2 separate regions of the Homo sapiens genome follow, and region 1 is linked to region 2. Evidence: promoter capture Hi-C in human tissues and cell types (Jung and others, 2019). All regions are on one chromosome and are shown on one strand. Each heading gives the region's core, a stretch centred on a gene start or on the middle of the fragment in contact. The rest is flanking DNA. Distances are from core to core; before and after follow the strand shown.

Region 1 (6,303 bases), core at 158-2,657, 580 kb before region 2:
TTTCAGTAGAGACAGGGTTTCACTATGTTGGCCAGGCTGGCCTTGAACTCCTGACCTCGTGATCCGCCCGCCTCGGCCTCCCAAAGTGCTAGGATTACAGGTGTGAGCCACCGCGCCCGGCCTAAGAACAGTTTAATTTTTAAGACCAGGAAGCAAACACAGAAACCAAATACATGGTTTTTTGTTTTCTGTTTGTTTTTTCTTTTGCAGCTGTGAGGAATTTTACTCAAATTAGATAGGCCTTGTTACCCATAATTTGGAATTCTCACTTGGATTTGACCAAGTGAAGTAGAGTTGGTCAATGGGAAAAAGACAAACAAAATAAAAAAAAACCCAACAATATGATCACTGAGCACTCTAATGGTAAGCAGAAATTAAGACCAGCTGGTTGTTAACTTTAGCCAAGACAAAAATCCCTATTCAGCTACTTACCTAGGGGTGCGTCTCAGGCTGAAAACGGCTGTCTACCATCCCAGAAGTAGGAAAAAAACCCCTCATCTTCCCTGTTGGAAGTGAGCTCAAACTCCATAAAAGAGTTACCTGCCTTCCCTCGTCATGGAAGCAGGAAAACTTGCCTTCCTTGTTGGAAGCAAGTAAAACTCCAAAATAATAATAATAATAATAATAATAATAATAATAATAGAGGGAGTTGTACAACAAAATGAACTTTAGATCTCGACCAAATTTTGGGAGATCAGGGATTCTCTGGAGGGGGTGCTCCTAGACCTTAGCAAATTGTCCTGTTGGTTTGAGCCATGGAGTTAGCTCATGTTGGTACCAAGCATGGATAGGAGATTTGTCAAAGATCAGAGGTATCTCCACTCACAATCCCTCCGTGGTTACCATCCTTCATTCAGTAAATATTTACGGACTGATTACCATACACTAGGCACTATTCCAGACATTGGAGATACAATGATGAGCATAAAAAACGGTCTAGATAAGAACTGAGGTCTCCAGACATACTTTATGCCCACTCAGTTTTGTCTTTTGCCCTAGTTGCTAAACAAAACTTAACTTTGCTGTGCGGTGCGACTTCGTTAACTTAAAATTACAGGCTGTCAGCTATGACCGCTAGACTCTAAGAAAGTCCAGTGGAAATCCTTCAATGAAAAGAATCTGTTCTTGGGTGGAAGCCCCGCTCATGCAGGAGGAACAGAGGGCTTCCATTCTCGCGTCACACAACTGAGGGTCAACCCCTTGCTCCCTGCAGTAAGCCTGATTAGTGGGCGGAGCTTCCTTCAGGATCGCAAGAAAGAAAGGAGGAAGGGGACCCCGCCTCCTACGTGCTCGCGGGGGGGGGCGGGGTCGGTGGACTGGGCGTGAGTTAATTGGCTGGGGGGCGGGGCACCACGGGTTGGCTCCGCCCAGGCGCTCGCGCGGATCCCGGGTGGAATGACGGGAGGGAGTCCCGGCAGCTCCTACCTCCCAGCGATGGCGTCGCTGTGCCGCGCCCAGTCCCCAGCCTGCCGGCCGGTACTCACCGCTACCCGGAGTTCGCTCAGACGGTGAGATTTGGGGCGGGTCCGAGGCAGCGGCGGGACGCTACCTGCGACCGGGACCATGAGGAGCTGCCAGACCCGTGGGGCCGGTAACGAGAGCAGTCGCGGCACCTGCTGAGAGGAAAGAGGGAGCGGTCCGGCGCGGCTGGGGCGCGGCAGAGGCTTGCCCGATCCTCGGCCATGTCACTGCTCTGCGTGCGCGGTGAGTGCGCGGACTGAGGCGGGGAGGCGGGGTGTCGGCGTAGAGGTCCCCGCACCCTTCCAGTGGACGTCCGGTGACCGTCTCACCCAAACTTTACATCCCGTCCGTGCTTTGGGGGTCTATTATTTTGGCAATCACTTAACAATCACTTGAGTTCTTTCCACTTTCTTGTTTTCCCCCAAGCTCCTGCAAGGGACGATTAGCTCTCCATTCTGGTAGCCATGTGACAATGTTGTTGGACTGCAGGCTCAGATCCTATTAAACAGTGACTGGGGTTCTCTAGTGAGAGTGGACGAGTTAGAAGACCGCGGATGGTTGGTGCCTGTGAATGGTGGGCAGCCTCTCATTCTTTTCCTCCTCCTCGCACCGTAACGCTACAGTATGCTTAGTAGCAGGTTCTTTTTATCACACTTTGAATGCGTTAGTGGTACAGCTGTCACATCCCTTCTATTGCTTGTCTTGTCCCCTGCCACTTCCCTGAACACTAACCGGTAGTATAGGCTAAGATTATTCTTCTGTTCCACTTGGGAGGATGTGGTGACTGCTTTTGAGGATAAGAGGTATGATTTATTTTTATTTTTATTTTAGCTTGCCTCACAGTAACTCAAGGTGAAGGGCCATTATTGCTTTTCCCCTGAGGACACTTGACCCATCTAAGAAGATATCTTAAAGCAAGAGCTTTGGGGTTTAAGATGAGGCATGGTACGCGAACTAAGTTCTATGTGGGTAGAGACTGTTTCTTATTAGTTTTTGTATTCCTGGTGTCTGACGTAGTAGAAGCTTAATGCTGGTTTTGAATGAATGCAAGTACTGTGACTTCAGAGAGATTATCTGATCAGGAAAACACAGGGTTTGGATTAGCCATTGAATTTGATCTCGGGAAATTCAGGTTACAGCCTATCATATCTGATGTGTCTTGATTATGAATGAGAGAGCATTTATCAACTAGAGCCTTTACCTGATATCTTTTACTGGAGAGTTCATATTTCTTTTGGCTCTACAGATTAGAAGCATTGTTGTTGTTTGTGATTTCTCCAATAACGATGTTTCCCCCAGCTACTGGCAGATGAAACTGCTTTGCTCTGTTCTCTTCCACTATTTTGTTGAATCTGCATTAACCAAAATGGATTTGGCCATTTCCCGGGATTATGAGATATACAGTTTTTCTTCTTTCATGGTTGATTTTTCATTAATGAGAATTTTGCTTTGCTTTTAGTAAGACATTTTCTCTCAGCAGCTGGGAATCTATTTATTCCTTTAGATCCCTGCTGCTGAGTAGCAGGATTTGGGAGAGGTTGGACTTTGCTGTGTCTCTTGGACAGTTTAATTCTCTACGGCCACACTGTATTACAGAGCTGGTCCTTATGAAAGACTCTTTAGGCAGGAGCACTCGTGAATCAGAAATTCCTATTTAACTGAATTTATATAACTACTGGTGTTTTCATTTGTTTTAATAGCAGGCAGGTTTCATTGTCTAGAAATTCTGCTATTTAGCTAACTTCTTTCCTTTTTAATGTTACTTTAGTGAAGTTTCTTCTTTTTTGAATCTGGAGAAACGAGATCAGCAGGCCATTGTCTTTTTGAATAGAGATCTAGAAGATTTTAAATACTGAAACAAACAGGTACCTTATATGCAGATATTCATATTGAATGGCAAAGTATTCATTTTGGGAAAACTTACAGAAATGAATTGAAATACATCTTTATTTTTATTTCTTTTTCTTTTTTTGAGACAGAGTCTCATTCTGTCACCCAGGCTGGAGTGCAGTGCTGCGATCTTGGCTCACTGCAACCTCCACCTCCTGGGTTCAAGTGATTCTCATGCCTCAGCCTCCCGAGCAGCTGGAATTACAGGAGTGAACCACCAGGCCCGGCTAATTTTTGTATTTTTTGTAGAGACAGAGTTTCACTGTGTTGGCTAGGCTGGTCTTGAACTTCTGACCTCAAGTGATCCATCTGCCTTGGCCTTCCAAAGTGCTGGGATTAGAGGCATAATCCACTGCACCCAGCACAAAATACATCTTTCTAAAATGACATTCCTTGCGTTGTATTTTGGCAGTAGGAATGTTGTATTCTGAAAGCAGTCTATATAGTGATATTTATTACAACTCAATTTCAATTCATCTTGGAGTAGAATCAATTAGAAACTTCCTATGCAGAGTTCAAAAAGTAGTTAACTTGATGTAGAAATTGGCAAACTGGTATTGAATTAATCATTCCTAAACATTTCATTCAAGAAGTCAGTTATTTTGTCTTGCCCTTTAATCATGCCTTATTGCCTGCAGGTTTAAGGCTCTCAATACTCTGACTCCAGACTTGTGGCCTTCTATTCTTGCCTATCCTTATGCAGACTTTGCTCTAGCACTAACTTTGTTTATTCCTGCCTCTGCTCTGTTCTGCACTTGTGCCCCCTGAAATACTCGTTCCATATTTTCTGCCTATCTAAAATGTATTCTTACTTTCCCAGCTAACAGTCTACTTTTTTTGTTGTTGAAAACTTCTTCAGGTCCCCAGTCCACAGTGATCTCTTTTTCCTTTAAATCCTCGGAGCACTTGTGGTCTGAACAGTGCCACTAGTTTGGAAATGAATCATATGCTGCCTGCAACTGGTCTTGTATTGTGGTGCTTATGGTGACCCAGACAAAGGAAGTAATTGCACTGGTCAGATCAGATCTGGAATTTTGTGTTCAGCTGTGGTATTTCCTTCTAAGAAGCATATTGAGAAGCTAGGTTATCTTAAGAGGGGAGTGATTAGAATAATGAAACATGTAGGAACCGAACCATTTGAAGAATATGGGAAATTTAGTTGTAGAAGATTTAAGAGGAAGAGGATCACGATAGTACATGAAGACTGTTTAAAAAACTGTCTTGTAGAAGTTATGTCACCTTTTTTGTTGTCATTCCAGAGGACAGAACTGGGACAAGTGTGGATCAGTGGTTGAAAATGACAGGAAATTAGATTTTAGCTTAACATAAAGAAGAACAGTTGGGTTGTTCAGAACAAATGGAATGGGCTATGTAGATTTTTTGACACTAAACAGAAATTGAATGAGTGGTAAGGATTCTAAAGGGGATATTGACCATTCAGCGGGTGATTGACTTGAATTTTTTTTTTTTTTTTTTTTTAATTTTTTGAGATGGAGTCTCTGTTGCCCAGGCTGGAGTGCAGTGGCATGATCTCAGCTCACTGCAACTTCTGCCTCCCAGGTTCAAGCGATTCTCCTGCCTTAGCCTCTGGGGTAGCTGGGATTACAGGCGCCTGCCACCATGCCTGGCTAATTTTTTGTATTTTTAGTAGAGACGGGGTTTCACCATGTTGGCCAGGCTGGTCTCAAACTCCTGACCTCGTGATCTGCCCACCTCGGCCTCCCAAAGTGCTGGGATTACAGGCGTGAGCCACTGCGCCCGGCCTAGACTTGAATTTTTAAGAAACCACTCTTTTATAGAATTCACTTAGTCTTTCTTTAAATATTTCCATAAGTATAAAGAAATATAAGTCTTTAACATGTTTTGGCACAGCTTTACTTATAATACGGATACTTTTTTTGGGCTTCCATAGGGACCAGTGCCACATGAACAACTGCAGTAAACTAAATTAAGGATTTTGTTTGACTTTTATTGTCTTGGTATTCACGACCAAGTTTCTCCAAGCAATTATAAGCATTTTTAGAATCAGACCTTTCCATAATATTTCTCTGTAATTCCCAGTGTTTATAACATAGTTATTCCCAGTGTTTATAACATAGTTAGATAATTTAACTATGGATTTTTTTCCCCCAAAAGTAATAAATGCAGGCCAGTCGTGGTGGCTCTTGCCTGTAATCCCAGCACTTTGGAAGGCTGAGACAGGTGGATCACTTGAGGACATGAGTTTGAGACCAGCCTGGCCAACGTGGTGAAACCCCATCTCTACTAAAAATACAAAAATTAGCCAGGTGTGGTGGTGCTCACCTGTAATCCTAGCTACTTGGGAGGCTGAGGCATGAGAATTGCTTGAACCCAGGAGGCAAGGTTGCAGTGAGCCAAGATCATGCCACTGTACTCCAGCTTGGGTGACGAAGTGAGACCCTGTCTCAAAAAAAATATGTGTATGGTAATACATTGCTAATTATAGAAAATTTAAAAAATGCAGAAAAGTACAAAAAAAGAAAAAAATTTCCATGGGCCTACCACCTGCCAATACCATTGCTAACTTTTTTTTTAAATTTAATTTTTTTTTTAAAGATGGGATCTCACTATGTTGCCTAGGCTGGATTTGAACTCCTGGGCTCAAGTGACTGTCTTTTCTCAGCATCACGAGTAGCTGGGACTACAAGGAACACACCACCACACCCAACTATTGTTAACTTTTTAATTCATTGTTTTCATTTTGTTTTTATTATAAGGTGATAAATATACAGATAAGAAGTTGAAACAGTTTAGAGTGTAAAGTAGAAGGAAAAGTTCTCTTGTCCCCATTCGGTATTCTTACTTCCCAGAGGTAACTACTGTTTACTGTCTCTTACCTATCCTTCTGGAAATTTTCATTGCAGATGAGTATATAGGTTCTGCAGTTGAATGTACATAGCATTCTTCAGCTTTTTTTGTTTTTTAACCTCA
Region 2 (6,154 bases), core at 755-3,254:
AAAGAGGAACTTCCTAGGCAACTCTAAAGGGGCGGTCAACTAGAGAGAGATGATGAGAGGCAGGACACATACTTCTGGCAATTTAAGGCCCAGATGTGATGCAGGAGCAAAAGGAAAAAAGTGAAGCTTCAGAAGAGGGAAGAAGGCTAGAGATCTAAGCCTGGGAGAGAAGGAGCTTTTTAGACCCTAAGCCAGGAGACCTCCAGGGGAGTGATCAGCAGAGGAGCTGAACTTTGGTGAAGGTTCCTCAATCAGGGTGAGGAACCTTGTACTACGTGTCTTTTTTTCCCATGAGTTTATAGACTTTGGGTTTTCTTTTCCCTTCCAGTCCTACAAAATGTTCTTTCAGGCAGGTTAAGTGATTTGGGAATTCTCTGCATTCTCTGTGGTTGGGGGCTGCCTCAGCTAGTTGGGTTGGGGCAGTGAGGTAGACAGGAGGCATTTACTAGAGAAATGCCAGATCTGTTTACTCTTTCAAGGAATGTGTGCTTGTGTGTGTCTTATTCCTACGGTATATCCTAGCTCAGGGCTGGGCACACAGGAAGCATCCCGAGAGTACTTATTAGATTGAATCTTATTCACATCTAACTGCTACCTTCTACACTAGCCAAGAGGTCCTTCCTTCTTGGCCTGGGGAGGTATTGTCCTGGCCTCTCCACCTCCTGGCTCTTACTTGGTCAGCGATGACTGTCCGGTGCTGATACATTCCAGGGTTAAGCTGCCAACGACAGAACTGGCCTCTCCAGCCACGGGTAATAGTGCCTCCCCCGATGCCACCCAAGGGACAACCTAGAGAAATCAGGGTGGTTAGTGGGGTATTGGGAGAGGAAAATAAGCCCATTTCTAACTTTCTAGACTATAAAGCCTGGTTCCTCTGAAAACCTAGGGGATGGAACAGTGCAATTTGCATAAGCTGGAAGTCTCTTCCTAACTGTGGTAGACCTGGAGGCTAGGCCTTCTCTGAGCAGAGCAGAGATGGGGTGGGGCTCACCATAAATCTGTCTTAGGGGTACAGAATTGATCATGTCGATGAAAGGTGTCTTCTTTTCCACATGGGTCTTCCGGTACCACCACTGCAGGTACCTGAGGAGCAAGAGGCAATGTGAGTGGAAGGGGGCAGGTGGGCAGCTGTTCACAGGCTGAGTCACCTGCCTCTCTCTGTGACCTCCCATTAAATGTCCCAAGGACATCTGCTTTCAAACCTTTCTTCCTCTTGATTTCTATACAGTTCAAGGTCCCTTCATCTTCCCAGTCACCCCAGCTGAAGTGAAGGAGTGGCTTTGTTTCTCTCCTTTGTTCTCCTCAGAAGGGGCTTTCTGATCTCTCCTTACCTCTCTAGCACCACCACCACTGCTTTATTTCCAACATCAGGAGCTTCTGTCTGACGTGCTGAAAGGACCATTTATGGTTTCCTGGCCTACAGCCTCCGCCCCCAATCCCCTACCTCCAAAACAGGCATAGGCTGCTGGGAATAACTTTCTTATCTTTATTTTTATTATTTATTATTTTTTTTTTGAGACAGAGTTTCGTTCCTTGTTGTCCAGGCTGGAGTGCAGTGGCTCGGTCTTGGCTCACTGCAAACTCCGCCTCCCAAGTTCAAGAAATTCTTCTGCCTCAGCCTCCCAAGTAGCTGGGATTACAGGTGCCCGCCACCATGCCTGGCACATTTTTTTGTGTTTTTAGTAGAGATGGGGTTTCACCATGTTAGCCAGGCTGGTCTTGAACTCCTGACCTCAGGTGATCCGCCCGCCTCGGCCTCCCAAAGTGCTGGGATTAGAGGCGTGAGCTACCGCTTCTGGCCTTTCTTCTTTTTAAAATGATCATTTTTCTTTCTAATTATGAAAGGTGAAAGGGGGAAAAAAATAATCTCACCCATAGACAATCAGTGTTTATATTTATTTCTGGACATTTCCTCTCAAGCCTTTTTTTTTTTTTTTTTTAAATTCAACATTTAAACTGTGAAGCTTTCTGATTTTGCTCTTGGTAAAGCCTTCAAAAAATCCCAACATTTTCCTGGGCTTGGTACAGCCCTATATCCAAGAGGCAAATGATTGAGGCTGTTTTCAATAGGCAAACGATTCTGTTTTCAAGGCTCTGACATCTGTCCCAGCCTATCTTCTAATCTTATTTCCTACAAATTCTCATTCCAGATGGGTCCTCACTAAGTAGCCCCTGCCCTGCCAGACTCTTTCCCATTTCCACTCTCCTGCCTACTGCCACATTATGCCTACTGTTCAGTCACACCACTTCTAACCAAATAATTGGGTAAGTAACCCCTAAGTCCCAGTTTCCTCATCTACAAAATGGGGATACCACCTGCTCTAGCTATCTAATGAAATGGTTGAAAGATCAAATGACATAATAGATAAGAAAGCCATAAAGTACAGGTATGATTATTACTCATATATACAAACTGTTATCTCAATTCCTAATCAGACATTGCCTTGTTATTTCAATGTTCCTCATGTGAGGCTGACATACTTTTAAGTTCCTTGGGGAAAGGGACAATGACAAAGACTAGCTGAATATTACCCTCAGGTCCAAGCACAGGGTAGGACATATGGTCTGCAGTCAATGCATATTTGCCAATTTTACAGATGAATGAACATACAAATGATGGGGCACAAGAGAGATAACAGACTGGAGCAGAGGAGAAGAAATGTGATTAATGAATAGGGACAGCGGCCAGGCACGGTGGCTCACACCTGTAATCCCAGCACTTTGAGAGGCCGAGGTGGGCGGATCACGTGAGGTCAGGAGTTCAAGACCAGCCTGGCCAATGTGGTGAAACCCCGTCTCTACTAAAAATACAAAAACATTAGCCAGCTGTGGTGGCAGGCACCTGCAATCCCAGCTACTCAGGAGGCTGAGGCAGGAGAATCGCTTGAACCCAGGAGACGGAGGTTGCACTGAGCTGAGATTGCACCATTGTACTCCAGCCTGGGTGACAAGAGCAAGACTGTCTCAAAAAAAAAATAATAATAAAATAAAAAGGGACAGCACATTCTAGGGGTGGAAAGAAGAGGGAAGACAAAGGATGGGATGACAGGAAGGCAGAGAATCCTCTCTGCCAGCTTAGAGAAAACCGGACTTTGAAACTAGAGACCAGAAAGGACTGGTAGAGGGAGGGTGTGGCCGAGGATTAGGGCAACCAGGGAGAGTAACTGCAATCTATGAGGACAGACAGAACAAAGGACTATCTGGCATGGAACAAGCACTCAATAAATATTTATTGAATGAGTGGACTCTGGCTGGAAGGGAGAACAATTGAAATTGAGTTCTTACGAAGGTAAGACCCAGAGAATTCTGTCTTGCTAGAGCTCCTGGTCAGAGTGCCCACAGTTCAGCTCCATCTTAGGAGCTCTCTTACTCCCTTAATATGGTAGCTGGCCATTCCTGACCTATTTGGCCTTCTCCACAATTTCAACCTCAACTCAAGAGTTATCACTTAGAATTCTTGTCTCACCTGTGCTTTCTCCTCATAGGAACTCATCCTATTCCAAAAGCCTTGTATCAGTACCCCCCACTCTATCCTGGAATGGGGAGCCAGGGTCCAGGGGGTTGAGCACAGCTTCAGGCCTCTATGACTCAGTTCATATTTAAGGGCTAAGAGGCTAGGATGCCCATCTTTTCTTGATCTCATTGTTCCTACCACATGCAACTCAGTGTACTTCTCTATGTACACTAGATCCTATTTTGATGCAAAAACTTTTGGGGTCAAACTTGGACTGAATTGATTCCAGAAGCAGCCTGGAGGGATGATTCTTCTCTGCTACAGGCTACCCACAGGCACCAACAAAGCCAGATGTGCAGGCAGCATCAGGCCCTTCCCACTCCCCAGGGCTAGGGTTAGATAACTGATCTCCCCATCACAGCCCCACAGCACTGACTGGGGAAATGAAGGGTCTCCTACTCTAGAAACTGTAAGGGCAGGGTTTCCCAAGCTTTATGCCTCCCTCCACAGTTCTGTGTGTATTGTGTAGACTGAGTCAGGATGACCTCAGGGTGATGCTTTCTGTCCTCACATCCACCTGTTCCTGTTAATGGGTCTGGCTCCTCATCACTAGTCTTTGAACTCAGTGGGGATCTAGATGGGTTCTACATCTATGGCAGTGCCTCTCTGATAAATGACTTAATATCAAGAGCTCTCTATCCCAGAACAGAATGACAGCACCTTCTCATCACTTCAGAGGTGAGGGCAGGGAGGCTCTTCTTACCTACTCCCTGGAGCTAAAGCTTGAAGAAAGAAGCAGTAGTGTTGGGACTCTAACAGTGTGTCTAATGAGGTACAGAGAATGCCCCAGCTGCTTGTGGGAAATAAGGGGTTGAGACCCCCCCACCCCCAAATAAAACAACATTGTGTTAGTATCACAGCAGCCAGATTATCCTTTCCTACCTTGCCACAAAGTATAGCTAATCCCAAAGGGAAGTCATTGGAAACCAGTATGTGAGAAGAGCCTGAATGGGAAAGGCTGATTGCATGACCAAATGTTCCTACCCTTTCCTTCTGAAAAGACAAAACACTGGGAGGGAAGGGTGTTGCAAAGAGATGTGACCTGGTCTCACGGTCCAAAACCACAGGCCTAAAATATGCCAGGGATAGGGACCGCTTCACTCAGACAAGAAGCCCAACTGCTTTCTTGCCCTTTCCCACCTCTGCTAGAAGTTTTGAGCTGGAACAAAGTGAAGCCAAAGGCATTCTAGGCAATGGGGTCTACTCACCTCAAGCCCATGCCTATATGCTTTATCATGTTGCTTAGGGAGACGTTGTTAGCTTGAAAGGGTTTCCTCTTCTCTGTAAACTCATGAGCCAGACAGATGCGCCAGCCAAAGGGAGGCACCTGGTAGCCCATAGCTTTACCCTCATAGGAAACCATCAGCTGCCCAGAGTCCTCCGGATTGCAGCAGTCCGTCTCTTTTGGGGGTCGGCTGTCTTCGGGACTCTTACAGTCTGTAACCTGCACATCCTTGGTGCCGCCAGTCTCTTCAGGGCAATAAACTTGTGGATCCTCTTTGGCACAGCTTATCTGCTCCGAGGCTGGGACGCCGGTTCCCATGTTCCCTGGATCCTGGGTCCCCATGACCTCGATGGCGCCAAGTCCCGAGCCCTCGGATACTAAGTATCTCGCCAGCCTATTCCAGATGCGGGCGCCGGTCGTTGTTAGGTATCGTCCCGGAGGGCCGGGCGTTGGGGAAAGCTTAAATGAGCTGGTGTTTCAGTGGAGCCGGGGAGCTCTTGCTTCAGTGGGGGCGGCGACAGCAAAGAAGCCGCCTTGGGCTCTCCTTCGGTTGTCTCTGTAGGTCCTGGACGGGAAGGGTCGGGCCTCGTCGTCATTGAGCCGACGATTAGCTCGCCCGGCCAAAGGGCGACTGGGCCCGCAGAGAGGGGAGGAGCCGCGGGGCCAGCCCACCAGGCACCGCCCCGGGACGGGCCCGCAAGGCACCGCCCCCGGGACCTCGGCCCGGCCCCTGGGCCACGGCACCGGGTCCCCCAGGATTGGGCGCCAGGTCCCGCCGGCCGGCTCCGGGGCAGCGCCCGCGCCCAGGTGCCAGCCCGTGGGAAGGTGACCCTGGGCGCCGGGATGACCCGAGCCCTTTCCGGTCTGGCCTGCCGGGCGCTTCCGGCCGGAAGGGACTCCGCGGAGGGTGGGGGACCGAAGGGAAGTCCCGCCTCTACCGCCCAGCGGACGCCGCCGCCGCCGCCGCCGCCGCGTACCTAGCCAGGTCCCTGAGGGGCGGGCAGATGAGGCCTAGGGGTGCCGATCCCTAGTGTCGACTATGCGAGGTGACTAGCGGCGGTGATCTTGGGCTGGGACGTGGAACTTTGAGGAAAGGGGGAGCGGAGGCCAGTTTGGGAACTCCGCGGGGGTGCCCAGGGAGAAGAACCCGTCGCACAGGGGCTGGGGTCTAGGGCCCAGAGCGATGTCCTCCCCCTGGGCAGTACTGAGTCTTCAGTCGCCTCCCTCCCACCCGCCTACCCCTCCTATATCCAGGAGCTCCCTCGGGCACCACGGTGCTGACCACCCCTGTCCTCAGCCCTCAGCCCTAGGTGCTCACCGCAACGCCCCTCCCTGTCAAGGTGCTGACCTCCGCCCCGCCTTGTTTCCTTCTAGATCTGATTCCGGAGCTGCCATGATTGAAGTGGTAGCAGAGC

What was found. Contacts are between HindIII fragments. The study calls those that stand out against the background at their distance.
Region 1: a contact is called between the fragment with the promoter of UNC13B here and a fragment that was not itself captured in region 2, in 1 of the 25 tissues and cell types used here (heart right ventricle).

Annotation. Positions count from the first base shown.
Region 1 is chr9:35,160,602-35,166,904 of GRCh38, forward strand. UNC13B (unc-13 homolog B) reads left to right here and starts at 1,408. Exons shown (of 40, transcript NM_001371189.2): 1 at 1,408-1,704. The coding sequence starts at 1,683. RefSeq lists a silencer at 1,274-1,403. The HindIII fragment of the contact is 10,387 bases long and covers 1-4,414 here.
Region 2 is chr9:35,743,624-35,749,777 of GRCh38, forward strand. GBA2 (glucosylceramidase beta 2) reads right to left here and starts at 5,605. Exons shown (of 17, transcript NM_020944.3): 1 at 4,723-5,605; 2 at 992-1,083; 3 at 674-789. The coding sequence starts at 5,081. It overlaps RGP1 (RGP1 partner of RAB6A GEF complex), which reads left to right and starts at 5,664. Exons shown (of 9, transcript NM_001080496.3): 1 at 5,664-5,785; 2 at 6,114-6,154. The coding sequence starts at 6,133. RefSeq lists silencers at 5,304-5,703, 5,824-5,873, 5,904-5,953. The HindIII fragment of the contact is 5,426 bases long and covers 1-4,717 here.